Linked DNA regions of Homo sapiens: regions 2 and 3 are each linked to region 1. Evidence: promoter capture Hi-C in 16 types of primary human blood cells and fetal thymus (Javierre and others, 2016). All regions are on one chromosome and are shown on one strand. The core of a region is centred on a gene start or on the middle of the fragment in contact, and the rest is flanking DNA. Distances in the headings are between cores, read along the strand shown.

Region 1 (3,035 bases), core at 132-2,631:
CTACCTTATTAGAAGCCATAAGGGCTGCACATTCCTTCTGAAGCAACCTGTGATGTTCTTAAGCGTTATGTAAATGTTAGTTGTAGGTAATATCAATACAAAGAATAACGCTATTTTTTGTTAACATATTAAATATCCGGCCGGGGTGGCTCCCGCGTGTAGTCCCAGCACTTTGGGTGACCGAGATGGGAGGATGACTTGAGTCCAAGAGTTCGAGACCTGCCCGGGCAACATAGTGAAATCCCCTACCAAAAAAAAAAAAAAAAATGAGCCGGGCGTGGTGGCGCGCTCCTATAGTACTAGCTACTCGGGAGGCTGAGGTGGGAGGATCACTTGAGCCCGGGAAGTCGAGGCTGCAGTGAACTGAGACCGCGCCACACTGCACTCCACTGTGGGTGACAGAGTGAGACCCTGTCTCAAATAGAAAAAAATAGGTAAACATAAATCCTTTCTTTCTGACATTCTCCGAGCGTTTTATTACTATTAATAGTTTTTTTCCGATTCTCAAGAGGAACTGAGATCCCAAAAAGGCTCAGAACTGCAGTAGTGGAGGCCCGGGACTGGGGGATAAAGGCTTAGGTGGTGGACGAGGCTGCGGGCCCAGCAACAGGCCTTGCGTACCATCCTGGGGGCCGGGGAACTGACAACAACAGGCGACATGCGCAGCGCACCCGATCCGTGCCACACGCTGTGCCTGCGCTTCATACACATCCCCCACTTTCATCCTCGCGACAGCCCTCTGAGGTAGGTACTTTCGTCAGCGCCACTTTACAAATGGGGAAACTGAGGCTCCGGGGATCAAGCCGCTATCCAAGGTCACATGGCTCGCGAGCCGAAAAGGCACGTTCGCTGGCTCCCGAGACTGCGTTCCCAACCCAGGCGCATCGCGGCGGACGGCGGGGGCGGGGAGGAGCGGGAGCCCGGAGACCCGGACCGATCGAGGCCGCGGGCGCGCGGGGGCGGCGGCCGGACTCACCTTGGCGCTGTGCACCGCCTCCTGCGCCCCGCAGAGCTGCAGCCAGATGCGCGCGGGCAGCGGCTCCTCAGCCCCTAGCGCGCCGAGCACGGCTAGGCTCACGCCAAACAGGCCCTCGATACGGCCGCGGCTCTGCTCCAGCAGCTCCGCCTTCTCAGCTGGCGCAGTGAACTCGTCCAGCACCGCCCGGGCCGCCATGGCGGGCGCGGCCTCCCGCGGCGGCGCCGGGGGCCGGCGGCGGCGACGCCCCCTCAGCTTGCTGCCGCTGCTCCCAAGCCAGTCAGGCGGCGTCGGCCCTTCCCGGCCGCCTCGCCCCCGCCCGCGCCCCGCCGCCCGCCCTCAGGCCCGGCTATACCATCCCGCCACGACCGCAGCAGCTTGGCAATTGCTGGCAGCGAACCCCTCCGCCCCTTTGCCGCCGCCGCGGGCCGGGCCCCGCCGCCGCGCATGCGCCCCGGCCGCAGCCGTCATTGAGGCTCGCCGCCCCCTAGGGGAAGGGAGTAGGGTGAAGGCGACGGAAGTTGACGTCACCCTCAGTCGCCATGTTGGTTGAGAATAAAGGGATGGTTTTGGAGGCCTGGGCGGACTTCTTTGATGAGGGGAAACCGCTTTCGCGGGATCTGGTGGATGTAGATATATGGGTTTATAGTTGGGGAAACTTAATTGCCAGGAGGCGAGACTGAGAGTGTCACAGGGATTGGACTTGACCTCAGACATCTTGACGCTCAAACCAGGATTCTAGCAGTTGAGTTATTCAGTTTCACGTTAATCCACAGGCAGACGGGACTTTTCTTTCTCTGTTTCTTCCCTTCCTCCCTACCCTTTTACCTTCTTAGCTGCCCTTCTCACTTTTTTCTCTTTCCCTTTTTATTTCTTTCAGTAAAAATGGTAGCAAGAAGAGAAGAAAATGGGCATACTTACGGAGAATTGAAAATCAAAAAAATGATTAAGATAAATTCAAGAAGGCCGGGCGCGGTGGCTCACGCCTGTAATCCCAGCAGTCTGTGGGGGCAGAGGCGGGTGGATCACTCGAGGTCCGGAGTTCGAGACCAGCCTGACCAAAATGGAGAAACCCCCGTCTCTGCTAAAAAAAAAAAAAAAAAAAAAAAAAAAAAAAAAAAAAAAAAAAAAAATTAGCGCGGCGTGGTGGCACATGCCTGTAATCCCAGCTACTAGGGAGGCTGAGGCAGGAGAATCGCTTGAACCCTGGAGGCAGAGGTTGCGTGCGGTGAGCCGAGATTGCGCCATTGCACTCCAGCCTGGGCAAGAAGAGCGAAACTCCGTCTCAAAAAAAAAAAAAAAGATAAATTCAGGAGAGTGATTTCTTCTGTGAGGGAAGAAAGGGGATATGTTATGGGAGAAGCCCGAAAAGTGGGAGTTTGGGGGCTCACTCATGATCTTCCCTGGGACTGGAGCAAATAAACCCTAACCCCTCTCCAGGTCTGTTTTCTGATCTGTAAAATAAAAGAGTACACTCAGTTATCTCTAAGGCCTTTTCCAGGCCTTTATATTCTCTGAGTCCATGAAAACAGATTGTGGAAGATAAAGTGTTGGATTCCTTTCCTTCAGCTAAATATTGTGGCTATAGTAGATAGGGGCTCTGGGAATATTACCTCTCTCTGTTTTAATTTTTCATCTATAAAATGTAGATAATAATAGTACTTCCTATTGTGAATATTAATACAGCACCCAACACTGTAAGTGCTCACTGAACATTATTATTGCTAACTTAAGCAATATATTTAAGGCCTAATTTTCAGGGAAAATCTTTGTGTGGATTATGCAACCACAGTGAACTTGTGGGCCCAGGAGTCTGTGCCATCTGTGTACATCCCTGCTAGAGGAAAAAGAGGAGGAGCTAAAGATGCTGTAGTTGGAAATACCAAGGGGGAATGGTCTCTGTAGGAGGATTTACCCAAGGTAAAACCTATGAGAGATCCAGGCTTCTGGGGGTTTCCATATGTCTCAGAAACTCAGGTGTGGTCTCCCAGTGCCCCACCAAGAAGTGATTCAGCACAGGGAAGAGAACCACTAGGCTCACAGATCAACAGATTCCTGC
Region 2 (3,193 bases), core at 396-2,895, 1.5 Mb before region 1:
AGGTTACCTTAGTACAAGCTGTAGATACGTTTACAGTGGGGTAGTTAAACGTTTCGAATTACTGAAATCTCAATTACGAATTTAGGAATATGTGGAGAGTAGACAATGTGTCCAATTAAAATCAAAAGCAAAATTACACTGAACTTTCTAATAAAACAAATTTGAAAAAAGTGCTGTTAGGGAGCAGGAAAAAAGTCACTCTACAAATATTAAGATACAGTGCTGAGTTATACATAACACCGTTAATAATGCCTCAGCCGTACCCTCGAAATTTTTAAAAAAAGAACATGTTACGACATTACAAACACGTCAGCTTTCAATTTAAATCAGCAGGGGGAAAAAGGGAAGTCCTTTACTGAGTGGTGGTGCTGTTTTCCCTCTGGAAATTGAAAAGACGATTTATTCAGTCCGAGTTTCAGGAGCAACTTTGTATCCCAATCCTAATTATCTATGTATATAAATTTTCATCTAAATTACCACCTCCTGGGAAATGCAAAGCCGGTGGAGTAGGTTTTAGAGCTCTGTGCTCTGGACAAGCCAACTGTTTTAATTCCCAGTACAACAAATTAGTAAGAACCGAACACCAGCGGCGGGGAATTCTGAGACCTCTGGCGGAGCGCGAGGAGCGCCGCGTCCCGGGAAGCACCCGAGCAGCAGCGCTCCCCGGGGGCCGGGACAAGCCGGGTCCGCGGCGCCCGCGCGCCGCCCCCGGAGCCCGCAGTGGTGCCGCAGCCTCCGTGGCCGCAGCAGGTGGGACCCGGCTGGCCCAGCAGGCCCCGTTCCCCGCCGCGAGGTGCAGGCGCCGCGGGGCTATTCGAAAACCACTGCACGACGTCACGGCCGCGGCTTTTATTGTTCTCGTGGAATTACTTTTTGCCATCACATCTGGAGAAAGAGCGGCCTCCGCTCCACGACAGGAATCTCACAACTTTGCAAAGGGATGCGCGGAATTCTACGGAAGCGGCGCGAGGGCGCAGCCCGGAGGGCCCTGCTGGGCCCAGGGGCCTCCTGGCCGCCTTCCCGACCCGATCCCTCTTCCCACACGCGCCCCGCGAACGTCGGCCGGACTCGCAGGGGTCGGAAGCGGCGCGCCCGGAGAGCCGGCGGAGCCGGGCAGGGCTCGCGCCCCGCGGTCCGCTCCGAGTAGCCGCGAGCCCCGCCAGACAAAGAGGCGCGTCGGGTCCCGGGCGCGGGTAAGGGACGCAGAGGCGCGGGCAGGGCGGCGCGCCAGCCTCGGCCCGCAGGGGGCGCCGTCCGTGGCCCCAGCCCCGGTCCTTACCTTTGAGGACCGAGCAGAGCCGCTCCAGGGCCATGTTCCCGAGCTGCCCGGCGCTTCGCGAAGGGCTGAGGTAGCGGCGGCGGTGGCTCGGCGCTCACGGCTCGGCGCGGCGGCGACGGCCCCACTCCGTCCCCATCGCCGGCCAGCAGCTGCCTCCCCGCTCCCCTGAGGAGAGCTCAGGTCCTGCGGCCCGCCATGCCCGAGCCCCACAGTGGGCTCCCGCGCGGCCCGAGCACCCCGACGGGCGCCGCCTCCTGCTCCGCGGCGCCCCGTCCCATCGACCGCCCGAGGGCCGAGGAGTGCGGACGCGCGGCGCGGGACCGGCAGGCAGCTCCGCCCGCGGCCCCGGCGCGGGATCCACTGAAGTGGCGGGCGCGGGGCGCCCAGGCTCATTTAAGGAGGGAGCGCGAGCGCCGCGTGCCGGCTGCGCCGCCTGTGCGCATGTGCCCGCCCCGCCCCGCCCCGCGCCGCGCCTCGCGCGCCCGCCGCGGCCTCGCGCCGTGGGACGGCGTCGCTCCCCGCCGGCTGCCGTTAGGGCTGGGAGCCGGCTGGGCGCGGGGGTAGTGAGGGTGCCTCTCGCCGTGGCTGCGCGGCGGCCTCGTCCGAGAGGCCGGCGCCGGGGCAGTGACCGGCCCGTGCCCAGCCGCCGCGCAGGGCGCCCGGGGCAGCTGGCCGAGCCCTCGATGCCTCCCGTCTGACGGAGGCGCCCGGGAAGCGCCGCCCACCTCGGCCCCGCACCCTCGCCGGCCTGCCGGGTCTCCGCCAGCCCTAGCAGACAGAGAGGGGCGCCGGTCCCTAGTCCCCCAGACCTCCATTCAAGGTCAAAACTTTGCCCAGCTCAGCCTTGCTCGACCCTGGGCAGGGAAGCGCGGACATCGGCAGAGGGAGCCCGAGGCTCTCCGTGCCCTTCGCGCCGGTGAGTTCCCGACCCGCGGCGCTGCCGGCGTTTCCCTAGCGCCCGCCAGGTTGACAGGCACTTTAGTACCAACTCCTCAGACTCCCCCTCATGAAGTAGGTTTTAGGGGATTGGAAAGTCGAGGCCAGAGAGGTGAAGCCCTTCGTCCAGAGCCGCGTAGCGAATGAGCGGCAGGGCTGTGCACCTCCCCCGGGGCTGCCCTCCTAGCAGCTAACCACTACGCTGGGCAGCTTCGCCAGCTGATGGGAGTCTCCAGGTCTGCCAACAACTGCCTGGCTGTTGGTGGTATTCATGATCCTGCTTTATTTTCTCCACAGCGGTTATCACACTGATATGACCTTCCTCATTTATTTATTTGTTCATCCTTTATATCTCCCTCACCCTCACACCATTAAAATATCAGCTGCTTGCAGGCAGGCCGACTGCATTCATTTTTTTCACTCCACACATACGTATTGGGTGTTAATTATGTGCAGAAGACAATGATTGGTGCTGGAGATAACAACCGTGATCAAGGCCTTACCATAATAGAATATTTATGCCTGTCTCTGCGTGTAGTAGGAACTCTGTAAACGTTTGTCTAACCAATTGTAGCTAAAGACAATGTCAGGCAACTGAAACATTTTTCAGGTGTTAAGCTCTTCTCTCTCACTTTGTATTCCTTCAAGAAAGGTACAAAAGCATAAATAATTCATGAGATTTACAAAGGAAAAACATACTTAACACCAATTAATATCGAGGTGTTTCACCCTTTGCCATGTGCTGTGAATGGGGGCATAAAAGATGGGTAAGTTTGGGTTCCTAAAGGTAACCACCTACTACAGTTAAGATCGCACACGAGAACCAATTAGGAAATAAAACATTTAAGAACTTTTTCCCACGGATATGAAAAGGTGGCTCACGCATGTAATCCCAGAACTTTGGGAGGCTGAGGCAGGCGGGTCACCCGAGGTCAGAGGTTTAAGACCAGCCTGGCCGACATGGTGAAACCCCATCTC
Region 3 (3,184 bases), core at 24-2,523, 1.8 Mb before region 1:
TTTTTCCAAGTTATTTTTTCTCTCCTGTTGATTTGGTCTTAGCCTTTCATACTATAATAGATGCTTTCTTCCAGATATCTGGGTAATTCTTGGCAATATGCTCATATTTAGGAGAGTGACCAAAGAAGCTGATTAGAAACATACACATACGTGGAGCTTGACTGTAGTCATCAGATTAGGATGATCCAATTAGGCCACTTCTCTGTGAATCTCTAATGAGAGTATCTTTATTTGGGGCCTTTTCTCTTGGGTCCTTCGGATTCTCTAGAGAAGATATGTTCAAACTTTTTTACTTTTTTTACCTGGACGCTAATAAGCCAAACTCAAGAACTCAGCATTTACTATGTCCAATTTTCACCTAGGCTTCCTGATCTTAACATGGTATCCTGGCCGTCAACAGACACCTGGTGTTCCTGAGACCAAAGACTGTATTATTTACCTTTTTCAAAGGATAAACCTGGGGGATAAGAGGGTAAACAGTCCTGGTGGGCTACTCATAAAAAGACTTGCAAACAATCCTCTCATTTTTAGCCTCAATTTCACTTCTACTTCCAGACATAACTGATACACAAATTCCTGACTTTTAGGTAACTGTGTAATAAAAATCAGTTTCTTTCTTAGATTTCCCCAAAGGAGTTTAGAGCTAGATGTGTTTCTTCAATCCACAATCTTCAGCTTGAAGTCTACATTCATTTTTTTTTTTTTTTTTTTTTGAGACGGAGTCTCGCTCTGTCTCCAGGCTGGAGCACAGTGACGCGATCTCAGCTCACTGCAACCTCCGCCTCCTGGGCTCAACTGATTCTCCTGCCTCAGCCTCCCAAGTAGCTGGGACTAGAGGCACGCACCACCACGCCCGGCTAATTTTTTTTGTATTTTTAGTAGAGACGGGGTTTCACCATGTTGGCCAGGATGGTCTTGATCTCTTGACCTCATGATCCACCAGCCTCGGCCTCCCACAGTGCTGGGATTACAGGCGTGAGCCACCACGCCTGACCCATTCATTCTTAAGTTCATTAATATGATGTTCAGAACTGCCTAACATATTTTAATCAGTCAAAATGTCACTTCTATATTATAATATCCAGAATACCCTTATATATAAAACGAAGACTTACATTAGACTAACCAAAAATTGTTTAATGATTTGTTTTTATGACTTTATAAAGATATATTATTATGATGATGTCTAACAAGCTTTCCTTTTCCATTCTTCCTTCTTATTCTGTTTCAAAATAGAAAAGTCATTTTTCCCCCTTTGGATCTCTCATCTGACTAGATAGAAAAGTCCATTTTTAAGTTAGGTTTTTTAGACACATTGTCAGGTTTTCCTTAATTCATGGTTAAAATAAAGTTAAAGCTTGCTTCAAAATTTTCAAATGCTCTAAGAGCAAGGAATCAATAAAAACCAACTAAATAGCTATTTAGCACTAAGAAGCATATCCAAGAAATCTATCCTAAAACACAGACATTTCAAAAGTTCATGTTAGATTGGTATAAAAGTAAAACCGCAATTACTTCTGCACCAACCTAATAGTTCTTGTCCACATTATATTTAAGAGTACAATGGTTTACAACAAAGATTGGCAAACTAGGCCGAGTGCAGTGGCTCATGCATGCCTGCAATCCCAGCACTTTGGAAAGCCAAGCTGAAAGGATCCCTTGAGCCCAGGAGTTTGAGACCAGCCTGAGCAACATAGTGAGACCTCATTTATACTAAAAGTAAAAAAAGTAGCCTGGTGTGGTGGCATGCACCTGAGGCAGGAGGATCGCTTGAGCCCAGGAGTTTGAGGCTGAAGTAAGCCATGATCACTCCACTGCACTCCAGCCTGGGTAACAGAGTGAGACGCTATCTCAGAAGGAAAAAAAAAAAAGCAAGGAAAGAAAAGAAAGAAAGAGATTGGCAAACTATAGTACAAGTAACAAATGTGGCCCACCACCTGCTTTATAAAGTATTACTGGAACACAGGCATGCCCATTCATTTATGCATGATTTATGGCTGCTTTCCAGCTACAATGGCAGAGCTGAGTAGTTGTGACAGAGATAGTATGGCCCACAAAGCCTAGAACATTTACTATCTGGCTCTTTACAGAAAAAGTGTAATGACTTCATGGTCTACATAAGATTCCAGTTTGTGCTACAAAAATTAATTTAAGTAATTTCCTACAATTTGTATCAAAAACAAAAAAAAGCATATCTTACTCTAGAAATAGCTTTCTTAAAATTTTTCTGTAATAAACAGAAAATGCCTAAAAAATATTTACAGCTAAACAAATGCTTCTTTTTTCATGTAATCATGAAATAAAAGCTGAAATCCTGCATATATACAGTTCTACCACAAGTATATAGACTTCATTTCCCCAGCTAAAGATGGTCATTATCTGCTTTCTCATCTTCTCTCACCCACCACCAGAAGCATTCTCTTCTTTCAGCTGCATTCCCTCTATTTCAACTGAAAAGAATGTTGTTTTCTGAGCCAGGCAGTATTTCTCTCTTTTCCTTTTTCTCTGCTGACTTTTCTTTACCTAGTTTCCCTTCTAAAATAGGAGTCCTCGGCATAGGTTTTCTGCACCCTATTGTTAAAGAAACATACAAATTTAACAAATAACTCAAACCCTCTGGAAGAGCATAATAGAAAGAGAAAAGCAGTAAAATTACCCAAGGAATATGGAGTACCTTAGTACAGCCTTCCTAGAATACAGTCAAAACCGATATAAACCTTACTCCTTTAGCCATACAATACTAAGACACCTTTAACTTTGATAAAAGCTAGGAATGGCTATACTGGTGAAGCTGTTTTCTAGCAATAGTAACTTTATTCAAATAAAAGCACATAAAGCAGAGAGAAATAGCAAACTGGTAGAATGGTCTTATTGTCTAAAATAAGTGAAATTTACATTTATACAAAAAGCACTTGAGTATCTAAGACAGAACGTCTGAAAAGCAAAGCATAACTCACAAATAGTGTAAGAAATTAAAAATGCATTTCAGTGAAGATGAAATCATTTTGACAGAGGTTTTTAAAGAACAATAAAGAGCAACTATCCCTTTTTTAAATTAACTACCAGCTTGAAAGTCTCAATTTTAAAAAGGTATTTGTGGACATAGAGAGGTTCATTATACTATTTTCTCTACTCTTGCATATGTTGAAATTTTCTGTAAGTTTTTAAAAAGATGCATAAATCA

Evidence for each region. The method cuts DNA at HindIII sites, captures the fragments that hold promoters and counts their contacts. A CHiCAGO score of 5 or more calls a contact.
Region 2: the fragment with the promoter of NETO2 here is called in contact with the fragment with the promoter of N4BP1 in region 1 in 1 of 17 cell types (total B cells); the score reaches 6.1 in total B cells.
Region 3: a contact is called between a fragment that was not itself captured here and the fragment with the promoter of N4BP1 in region 1, in 1 of 17 cell types (total CD4 T cells). The highest score is 5.9, in total CD4 T cells.

What each region holds. Positions count from the first base shown.
Region 1 is chr16:48,608,799-48,611,833 of GRCh38, forward strand. N4BP1 (NEDD4 binding protein 1) reads right to left here and starts at 1,382. Exons shown (of 7, transcript NM_153029.4): 1 at 977-1,382. The coding sequence starts at 1,174. It overlaps LOC124903687 (a long non-coding RNA gene), which reads left to right and starts at 1,512. Exons shown (of 2, transcript XR_007065063.1): 1 at 1,512-1,720; 2 at 1,857-2,415. RefSeq lists enhancers at 513-562, 1,513-1,562, 1,573-1,652, 2,845-2,924 and a silencer at 873-1,472. The HindIII fragment of the contact is 6,560 bases long and covers 1-3,035 here.
Region 2 is chr16:47,142,300-47,145,492 of GRCh38, forward strand. NETO2 (neuropilin and tolloid like 2) reads right to left here and starts at 1,646. Exons shown (of 9, transcript NM_018092.5): 1 at 1,280-1,646. The coding sequence starts at 1,313. It overlaps ITFG1-AS1 (ITFG1 antisense RNA 1), which reads left to right and starts at 1,769. Exons shown (of 4, transcript NR_110904.1): 1 at 1,769-2,195. RefSeq lists silencers at 627-776, 947-1,786, 1,847-2,176. The HindIII fragment of the contact is 8,905 bases long and covers 1-3,193 here.
Region 3 is chr16:46,805,564-46,808,747 of GRCh38, forward strand. The region is part of intron 3 of C16orf87 (chromosome 16 open reading frame 87); the gene reads right to left. Among named protein-coding and RNA genes, the nearest start is that of C16orf87, 24 kb to the right of the region's middle. The HindIII fragment of the contact is 163 bases long and covers 1,193-1,355 here.